Regions from separate parts of the Homo sapiens genome. Here region 1 is linked to region 2. The links are contacts of gene promoters, found by promoter capture Hi-C in human tissues and cell types (Jung and others, 2019). All regions are on one chromosome and are shown on one strand. The core of a region is centred on a gene start or on the middle of the fragment in contact, and the rest is flanking DNA. Distances in the headings are between cores, read along the strand shown.

Region 1 (4,987 bases), core at 2,438-4,937, 210 kb before region 2:
TGCTGTTAATCTGTAACCCTACCCCCAACCCTGTGCTCCCTGAGACATGTGCTGTGTCAACTCAGGGTTAAATGGCTTAAGGGCTGTGCAAGGTGTGCTTTGTTAAACAAATGCTTGAAGGCAGCATGCTTGTTAAGAGTCATCACCACTCCCTAATCTCAAGTACCCAGGGACAAAAAACACTGCGGAAGGCCGCAGGGACCTCTGCCTAGGAAAGCCAGGTATTGTCCAAGGTTTCTCCCTATGTGATAGCCTGAGATTTGGCCTCGTGGGAAGGGAAAGACCTGACCGTCCCCCAGCCCGACACCCGTAAAGGGTCTGTGCTGAGGAGGATTAGTAAAAGAGGAAGGAATGCCTCGTTGCAGTTCAGACAAGAGGAAGGCATCTGTCTCCTGCTCATCCCTGGGCAATGGAACGTCTCGGTGTAAAACCCGATTGTATATTCCATCTGCTGAGATAGGGGAAAACCGCCTTAGGGCTGGAGGTGGGACATGCGGGCAGCAATACTGCTCTTCAAGGCATTGGGATGTTTATGTGTATACATATCTAAAGCACAGCACTTAATTCTTTACCTTATGATGCAGAGACCTTTGTTCACTGTTTACCTGCTGACCTTCTCTCCACTATTATCCTATGACCCTGCCACATCCCCCTCTCCGAGAAACACCCAATAATGATCAATAAATACTAAGGGAACTCAGAGGCTGGGGGGATCCTCCGTGTGCTGAACGCCGGTCCCATGGGCCCCCTTTTTTCTTTCTCTATACTTTGTCTCTGTGTCTCTTTCTTTTCCAAGTCTCTCGTTCCACCTAACGAGAAAAACCCACAGGTGTGGAGGGGCAACCCACCCCTTCACACTCCAGCCTGGGTGACAGAATGAGACCTTGTCAAAAAGAAAAAAAAAAAGAAAAAAAATTCTGATCAGGCCGATGCTTGCTTGCACGTGCTAACCACTCACTTTTTGCCCAATATTCCTTGTTCCCACAATATAAACTGCTGATGTGCTGTTTCTTGGTCAAGCAGGAAGAGGTAACTTTGTGGTCATGAAAAAAAATTGCAGGCCAGGCACAGTGGCTCATGCCTGTAATCCCAGCACTTTGGGAGGCCGAGGTGGGTGAATCACCCGAGGTCTGGAGTTCAAGACCAGCTGACCAATATGGTGAAACTCCGTCTCTACTAAAAATACAAAAAATTAGCTGGCCATGGTGGCGCATGCCTGTAATCCCAGCTACTTGGGAGGCTGAGATAGGAGAATGGCTTGAACCCGGGAGGCGGAGGTTGCAGTGAGCCAAGATCCCCGCCATTGCACTCCAGCCTGGACAAAAAGAGCAAAACTCCGTCTCAAAAAAAAAAAATTGCAGGAATGAATGCCTTGAAGGACGTTGTGACCAGCTGCTGATGCCCAGAAGTCTGGTGGCTCAAGGGGTTATCTGAGACTGAAGAAACACAGACTTTTACCCTGGGTTCCCTGAAATGCCCCCTCCGTCACTCCTTAGTCACATTAAAAACTCCCTGCTGCTTTTTGAGACAGGCTCTCAGTCTGCCACCCAGGCTGTAGTGCAGTGGTATGAACACAGCTCACTGCAGGCTTGACCTCCTGGGCTCAAGTGATCATTCTGCCTCAGCGCCCCAAGTAACTGGAACTACAGGCACATGCCACCATGCCTGGTTTTTTTTTTTTTTTTTTTTTGTAGAGCCGGTGTTTCACCATGTTGCCCAGGCTGATCTCGAACTCCTGAGCTCAAGCAGTCCACCTGCCTCAGCCTCCAAAAGTGCTAGGATTACAGGTGTAAGCCACCCTGCTGCTTTTTTTCTGTTAATAGGGATTTGAGAGATTTGCTCTCCCGCCTTCTCACTTTGGCCAAATCAAATAAACCTTTCTCTATCTCCCACTGTTTGGCCTTAGCTGTGCATCAGGTTCACCAGCCTGAATCTGGGTTTCTATGACAGTGTTAGAGTCCAAATGAAACCCTAACCAGGCCCCTTTTTTCCATCCACAGCCCAGCCCCAGCACCTGCCTTCAAAAGGACTGGCCCGAATTAAGACTTGGAGCAGTGGCTCAGTCACGAATAGCATGACATCACCAGGGTGAGTCACCAAATGGTGGCCACCACCAGAGGGTAGCTGAGTTTTGAGGGATACTGAGAACCCAGAAGAACCTTTCTGTCAGGGCTGCTGGTGATACTGCTTCAGTCAACAGGAGATGGGGAAGGAAAGTGTGGCAACATGGCAGCCCTGCAGCTGGGAGACGGTTTCAGTTTTAATCATCCATAACTACCACTCTCCCCACTGGAGAAGGAAGAGGTGCAGGGGTTGTGACCCACACCAGAAGGGACTGGAACTCAGACAGGGCTCACCCCATCTGGATGAAGCAATCTTCCTGCCTTCACTCAAATGGCTTCTGGCCTTTGACATCAGTTGGACTGGGTTCAAATTCCACTGTGGTACTTACAGGCTGTGTGAACCTGGGACAGTGGCCTAACTTCTCTGAGCCTCTGGTTCCTTATCTACTAAAAGAGCATGACATCACTATGCACTTCACATAGCTATTAAGAATTTAAAGTAGGCCGGGCGCAGTAGCTCATCCTTGTAATCCCAAAACTTTGGGAGGCCAAGGTGGGCGGATCACGGGGTTGGGAGTTCAAGACCAGTCTGGCCAATATGGTGAAACGCCATTTCTACTAAAAAATACAAAAATTAGCCAGGTGTGGTGGGGCACGCCTGTAGTCCCACCTACTTGGGAGGCTGAGGCAGAAGAATCGCTTGAAGCTGGGAGGCAGAGGTTGCAGTAAGCCAAGATCGTGCCACCGCACTCCAGCCTGGGCGACAGAGCAAGATTCTGTCTCAAAAAAAAAAAAAAAAAAAAGGAAGAAAAGAATTTAAAGCAGCCGGGCGCGATGGCTCACGCCTGTAAAATCAGCACTTTGGGAAGCCAAGGAGGGTGGATCACCTGAGGTCAGGAGTTCGGGACCAGCCTGGCCAACATAGTGAAAACCCCGTCTCTACTAAAACTACAAAAATTAGCAGGAGGTGGTGGTGCACCTGTAATCCCAGCTCCTCGGGAGGCTGAGGTGGGAGAATCGCTTGAACCTGGAAGACGGTGGCTGCAGTGTGCCGAGATCATGCCGCTGCACTCCAGCCTAGACAACAGAGCAAGACCCCATCTCAAAAAAAAAAAAAAAAAAATTAAAGCGCTTATGTAACATTCTAGAGTGGGAGGACTTCGAGACAGTCTGCGAGAAGCTCCTGCACAGGTGGGCAATAAGACCAACATTGTGAGCCTGAGTCTTGAGACAGACTGGGGGTTGAATTTTGCCCTTACTATAGCCAGCTGTGTGAGTTGGGATGAGTTATTTAACCTACATAAGCTCCAGTCACTGAATACACTGGACACCAACTGTGAGGCAAGCAGCTTTTTGCTATGGAAAGCAGGGGTAATATCAGTACCCCCCTTCCTCGGATCGACATAACTTGCAGTTAGATGCTCCCAGACAACTCGATTCAGTGTCTGGTGTGCAGGAGTTTCACTCAAATGTGAGGATAACCCAATCCACCTGCAGGCGCTGGGAGGCTGGGGTGTAGTGACTGGGAGCTAACCGGATTAGACAGCCATCAGTAATACTGTAGGAAGGGCATCCTTGTAGGGTGGGGCCACTACGACCAGTACGGCTCACCCAGGTGTAGACAGACGCTGGTAGCTCCTGGCCAGCTCAAGGTGTTTCCTTTTGCCTGGTAACCAGGAGGAGTGGCTGAGGCAGGGCATGGAGCGGAGCAACGCAGCTACAAAGTGCGGAGAGGAGCCCCGCTCTGGATCCCGCCGGCTCCCCAAGGCTGAAGGAGACAAGTGAGTGGGGAGTCACTGGGAAGAGCATCCCGGCGGAGGGCTTGAAAAGGCTCCTTATTGTCTGCTGGGAGCCTGAGGCTCTGCCCGACCTTGGGACAAGAGGCTAGGCGGGGAGCTGAATGTTCGATTTGGGATGAATTCCCCCAAAGCCATGAACCGGCGTCCCGGGGAACCGGCCCACAGGGACAGGAGGCGGTTAAGTAGAAAGTCTGTCTACATATCCCTTCCTCCGCCGCAGGTCTGGATCCGCAGGAGCCCCCAGTAAGAACAGCAGCCGCCTGGGGGGCCGACCATGTATGTGTACAGCTGGCCGCCGCCCAAACAGGGCGTCTGGCCGCCGCCGCCGCAGCTGCTCACCTGCACCTACCTGGCCGCCCCTCTGCTGCTACCCCCAGTCCAGGCCCACAGCTTCCGCAGCCGGCCCGGGAGCCTGCATGCGGGCGAGTGGGCGGCCCCACGGGAATACCACCGCTTCTACGGCCCCGCCGCGCCACCCGAGGCCGCGCCGCCCTGGTGGGCCTGCCCTCCGGCCTACGCCACGACCCTGCGCCGGCCCTGCGCCGCCGCCGGCATCTCGGGACTGTCGCTGCAGGCGCCCGCGGCGGTGGCCGAGAGCTGGGCGCCGTGGCCGGAGGGCGGGAGCCTGCAAACCGAGCTGCGCTGGGGCCGCGTGGAGCGCGCGCGGGGCCCCCCTCTGCAGCTACCGGACTTCGTGCGCCGGGAGCTGCGGCGCGCGTACGGCACCTACCCCCGCGCCGACGTGCGCGTCACCCAGCGCCGCGGCCAGTTCCTGCTGCAGGCGACGCCGCGCGTGCTCGAGCCCGACCACCGCGTGGAGTGGCGCGTGCGGCGCCGGCCCGACAGCGGCGACAGCAGCCCAGCCCGGGAAGCCGCGGAGCGCGGCCGCCCCAGGAAGAGCAAGGGCCTGAGCTGAAGCCGCCGCAAGGCCTAGGGGCGGGCCCGCGTGCACGCGCTTGGCTCTTTCCTGTGTGTGCCGCCGCCGACAGGCAGAAGTGAGCCCTCACCTGTGCGCGGGAGGCGGACGCGCTGCTCACCTGTCTTTTTGGCTTCTCCCATGACTGCCGGCCAGTTTCCTGCACTTGTTTCTCTCGCTTTATTGCTGGACGGTGGGAGAAGGGCAAG
Region 2 (4,763 bases), core at 2,052-4,551:
GCCCATGTTCACATAATTAGTAAATAGCAGAGCAGAGAGACGAACCCCTGGGTCTCCTCACCCCCAGGCCAACTCTTTTCATCGCCTTTTGTCACCTCTTATGCCTTAGTATATCGGGCTTTGACTCCCGGTCTGCCTTTCATACCAAGCCTTTGACGGGCCTTATCCACCAGGCTAAATACGCAGCTTAGCCCACCTCATCAGTGATAGGAAACAGAAGTCTTTCTTGTTTGCCTTAGAAACGCTAAGGGGCCTGAGGGTTGGATGCCCACCTGTTTTCACTGTCTTGCCCCCAGCTGCCTCCTCCCCTTGCAAGAGATGATAGAGGTTACTAAGCTATTTAGAATTACCTGTATTACCTGGAAGTGAGAATGCGTGAGAAGAGGACAAGAGGATGGGTTTTCTCCTAGGAGACTGAATCATGAAATTCCCAGCCTATTTGGGACACTAGAGCCCCAGTGTCCCTGCAGACCTGGAGAAGCTGCTGGGAGGCAGTGAAAAAAAAATACCTAATTCTTTCCATACATCCTCCCAATTATGGACGACCCAAGTCCAGGGAAGCTCTATAACTAACCACATAGGAAAGTAGTCTCAAAACCAGACATCCAAAGACCATCCGTGTGCTACGATGCGCTATTTTTTTGTTTTGTTTTGTTTTTTTGTCTTTTGTTTGTTTGTTTGTTTTGAGAGAGTCTTGCTTTGTCATCCAGGATGGAGTGCAGTGCTGTGATCTTGGCTCACTGCAACCTCCACCTCCTGGGTTCAAGTGATTCTCCTGCCTCAGCCTCCCAAGTAGCTGGGATTACAGGCATCTGCCACCACACCAGGCTAATTTTTGTATTTTTAGTAGAGATGGGGTTTCACCATGTTGGACAGGCTGGTCTCGAACTCCTGACCTCAGGTGATCCACCCGCCTCAGCCTCCCAAAGTGTTGAGATTACAGGTGTGAGCCACCACACCTGGCCACGATGCTCTAGTGTAAAGCACCCATCAGATATCAGACGTGAAGAACCCCTCAGTAACTTCCTACACCTGCACATTGGGCTTCTGGTCGGTGGGTCCAGCTGAGGATCTAGCCTCTATCACCCAAAGAGAGTCAGGGAAAGAGGATATACCATCATAGCACCTCTTTCCACATTACCTCAAAGCCATTTTCCTCTTCATTTGAAAACTGAGAGTTGGTGTCCTGGGCCTGTCTCAGATTGAGAGGTCCTGGAAAGCCGATTGGAAAATCCTCTAAGTGGGCCAAAAATTTCTGCTCGCCAATATCTACTTCTACATACCTCCAGAAATTCATCATTCTAAAAGCATGTGATTGTGCAATAGAGATGGGGAGGAGAGAGATGACAATTCCCTAGTCCCTCCTAACCACTAATCATCATCTTACCAGGCAGAACATCTTCCTCATAGATTTCAGTGTGACATTTATTGAGATTCTACATTATGCCTGGGAATAACAGACATGGTCCTTACCCTCCTAAATTTTATTATCATAGCAGACAACACATAAGCTGATCCCTTCAATATGGTGGGTGGTGTAATAGAAGGTATACACTGAGGGTCATGAGAGCAAGGGGCTAAACTGAGAGTTCAGAAAAGGCTTCCCAGAGAAAATAAGACTTGAGTGGAACATTGGAGGAGTAGGAATTGACAATATAAAGATGGGTTACTTTCACAGGAAGGGCCAGAGGTGTGCAGGACACTACTAGGAAATTGGAGATGAAGACAAGGTCAGGTCCTGAAGGTCTTGTATGCCAGGCTAGGGAGCTTGACCTTTATCCTAAGGGCAATGGGAGTCACTGAACAGTCAAGACATGACTGCTCAGATTTGCCTTAGGGGCATATTGTGTGACTGGGCTTAGGCTCTTTTTTTTTTTTTTTTTTGAGACAGAGTCTTGCTCTGTCGCCCAGTCTGGAGTGCAGTGGCGCGATCTCAGCTCACTGCAAGCTCTGCCTCCTGGGTTCACGCCATTCTTCTTCCTCAGCCTCCCCAGTAGCTGAGACTACAGGCACCCGCCACCAAGCCCGGCTAATTTTTTGTATTTTTTAGTAGAGATGGGGTTTCACCGTGTTAGCCAGGGTGGTCTCAATCTCCTGACCTTGTGATCCGCCCGCCTCGGCCTCCCAAAGTGCTGGGATTACAGGCATGAGCCACAGTGTTTGGCCTGGGCTTAGGCTCTTCGGAGCACCCAAGCAACATAGCCTAACTGGGAGAAGAGAAGGAGCCTGTTTCCTGGAAATTGAGGCCTAAGTCAGAGAGGGCCGAAGTCACAGTCTGCCAGGATGTTCCTTGGTCATCTGTCCTGTCCCTTGCAAATTCCTAACCAGCAGGCACCAAGGCCACACCTTGCCCACAGGACTTAACCTGGTACCACCAGCGGGAAACCAGCCCTGCTGAAGGAGGGAGAGCACAGCCTAAGCAAGACAAGGGTACAGACTGAAAGGCAATGCCTTTGGAGTGCCCAGCCCAAGCCCTGAGATCCAGCAGGAACCTCCTCTTAATTGTTTTGCGCGGGGAGGGAGATGATAGTTACTCGTCCAAGTTCACTCAGTGATGGTGCAGTTCGTGGCAGCGTTGGAATACTACTTTGGTTTGTATCATTCCAAACCCTGCTGTCTCCACGAAGTCACCTTCCTTGGAGAAGAAGGGGGAAATGAAGAAGAGGAAAGATATGAGGAAAGAGGAGCAGAGAGAAAGAGAAATGAGTCTTTTAAAGTGGCAGAGGAAGGAGAATGGTAAACAGCAGGAGCGAAGCGGCTGAGGAGAAAGAAGAGGAAAGAAAGGCGAGACGTGGGAGGATTGGAACAGAGACAAAAGGGAGGAGAGACGGACAGCGACAAGTGGAGAAAATCGGCGAAACTTGAGTGGCAGAGAAGTCTGAGCGCTGAGACCCGGCGGCCCCGTGCGCCTTCCCACCTGGCGCCGATCCACTTTCCTCGGGGTAGCGGCCCAACCCACTTCGCTGCCAGCCGATCCCTTTTACCCGTGGCTACCGGGACCACTCTACTCTCGCCCACTTGGCTCTGCCTAAGCGTCCTAGCCGGAGCGCGGTCTCTGCCACGTGGGGAGGGGCGCGGCCGAGTTGCTGAAGAGCGCTTCTGATTGGCCAGAGGGCGGGGTTCTTGGCGTCTCGCCGGCCAGACCCCTCCCTCAAAGGCGGGGCCTGGAGATCCACAGCTGGAAAGGGCGGAGCCCCAGCAGGGCAGCTGGAAAGGGGCGGGGCCTGACGCGCGCGGCTCGCCGCGGCGGGCTGGGGGCGCCCTGGTCTGCCATAAAGTGAATGGGCGCCGGCTGGGGGTGGCAGTACGCGGTGAGGCTCACTCCCTCCGAGAGTCCAGGAGCGCCCGAGCGGAGAGGCGGCCCGGGAGCAGGGGGGCGGCCCCCACTCCGGCCGGGTGCCCGGCCCCTGGCCCCTGCCTGCCCTCTAGATCGCCGCCGCAGCCGCCGCTACTGGGAGTCTGCCTGTTGCAGGACGCACTGTGAGTGTTTGACCATTCTAAGGACAGGGGCTCATGGGGCCGAGGAGCTATTGCTGGACCTTGGAATCCCTAAAACGAGACCTGGGGCAGCTGAACTCCGGTGCCTTGGGAACAGGTCGAGAATGGGAGGGCGGACTGCAGACCTGGGGCCAGGACTTGGGAAAAGGGAAACTCAGGGTAAGAACCAGGGGATAGGGAAGGGGGAGACTCAGAGGATCCGGAACGAAGCCGGAGACTTGAAACCAGGATAGGGGCTTCGCGAGGCAGGGAGTAGGGAGTCTGGAAACCATTACCAGAAAGCGCCCTGGAATCCCAGGGCACGGGGCAGGCGGCCAGGGAGCGAAAGGGGTTACAGAGGCCCTGGCCAGCGGGGGAGCTGGCGGGGCGGCCCCCAGTGTGGGGGCAGTTGACGGCGCCCGATGCCCCTCGGCCTAGGCTCAGACTCCTGGGGCTGGGAGCCGGGGTGCGCCTGGTCGCACACGCTTCTCTTCCCAGCTGCTCCGCAGTTGGAATAGGAGCTGTGTTGTGAGAGCCCGGCCGCGACTGAGTCAGATGGCCGCTGTGCGGATCAGAGTGACCAGGCGGCGGGTATAGTGGATCTGGCTTGGGGTGTCTGGGCCCAGAAGGGTCCTGACTTGAGGCCGCCTCAGAATCGGACAGAATGTCCGCGGTGCATGGGGCTCGGAGCGGACAGAATGTCCGGGTAGCGAAGTGGGTCTCTCCGGAGCGGGAGTTGTGTCTGGCAGTGGCGGACAGAATGTCCCTGGCTGGGTGGCATGTCCGTCTACCCAGCAGCGCCTGCCCAGCTGCTGCGTGTGCGATGGGGTCGGCTGCGGTGGGTCACCTCAAATCCCAGCTCACACTTTGCAAACTTGTTTCAGCTCCTTCGGGCTGCGAAGCTGTGAGCAGGGAGCGAGAGTAAAGGCTACAACCTGGCCTTGGGGTGAGGTGGGCTGGGACACATGCCCCCTTCAATTCAGAATAGATCAGAGCATCACTCTGTACTTCCAGAATCCAAATTTGAGGACAGAAGGCCAATGAGGAGCCTGCTAGTGGGAATCAAGACCAGGAAAGGAAGGAATAGGTGACAAAAGGCAATGGGAAAACAGGAAGGAGCTGGGTACAAGCCCCTGGCAGCCTCAGTTGCCCCCTAATTCCAATACAATTAACCAGACACCCCCCAGACTCCTTGCTGGAGTATCAGGCGACCAATGGCTCCTTCCCTACAGTGGGCAGGAGCCCAGGCCAGAAGAGAAAACTACAGCCCCATTAGCAAAGCAAAT

What was found. Contacts are between HindIII fragments. The study calls those that stand out against the background at their distance.
Region 1: a contact is called between the fragment with the promoter of C10orf95 here and the fragment with the promoter of PITX3 in region 2, in 2 of the 25 tissues and cell types used here (aorta and heart right ventricle).

The regions. Positions count from the first base shown.
Region 1 is chr10:102,450,243-102,455,229 of GRCh38, reverse strand. C10orf95 (chromosome 10 open reading frame 95) reads left to right here and starts at 3,687. Exons shown (of 2, transcript NM_001363580.1): 1 at 3,687-3,844; 2 at 4,083-4,987. The coding sequence starts at 4,137. The coding sequence ends at 4,778. C10orf95-AS1 (C10orf95 antisense RNA 1) reads right to left here. Exons shown (of 3, transcript NR_038938.1): 2 at 4,900-4,987. RefSeq lists enhancers at 1-260, 261-849, 3,038-3,720 and silencers at 4,243-4,732, 4,773-4,852. The HindIII fragment of the contact is 10,367 bases long and covers 1-4,987 here.
Region 2 is chr10:102,240,050-102,244,812 of GRCh38, reverse strand. PITX3 (paired like homeodomain 3) reads left to right here and starts at 3,301. Exons shown (of 4, transcript NM_005029.4): 1 at 3,301-3,480. It also overlaps a transcript of GBF1 not described here. RefSeq lists a silencer at 3,150-3,439. The HindIII fragment of the contact is 21,724 bases long and covers 1-4,763 here.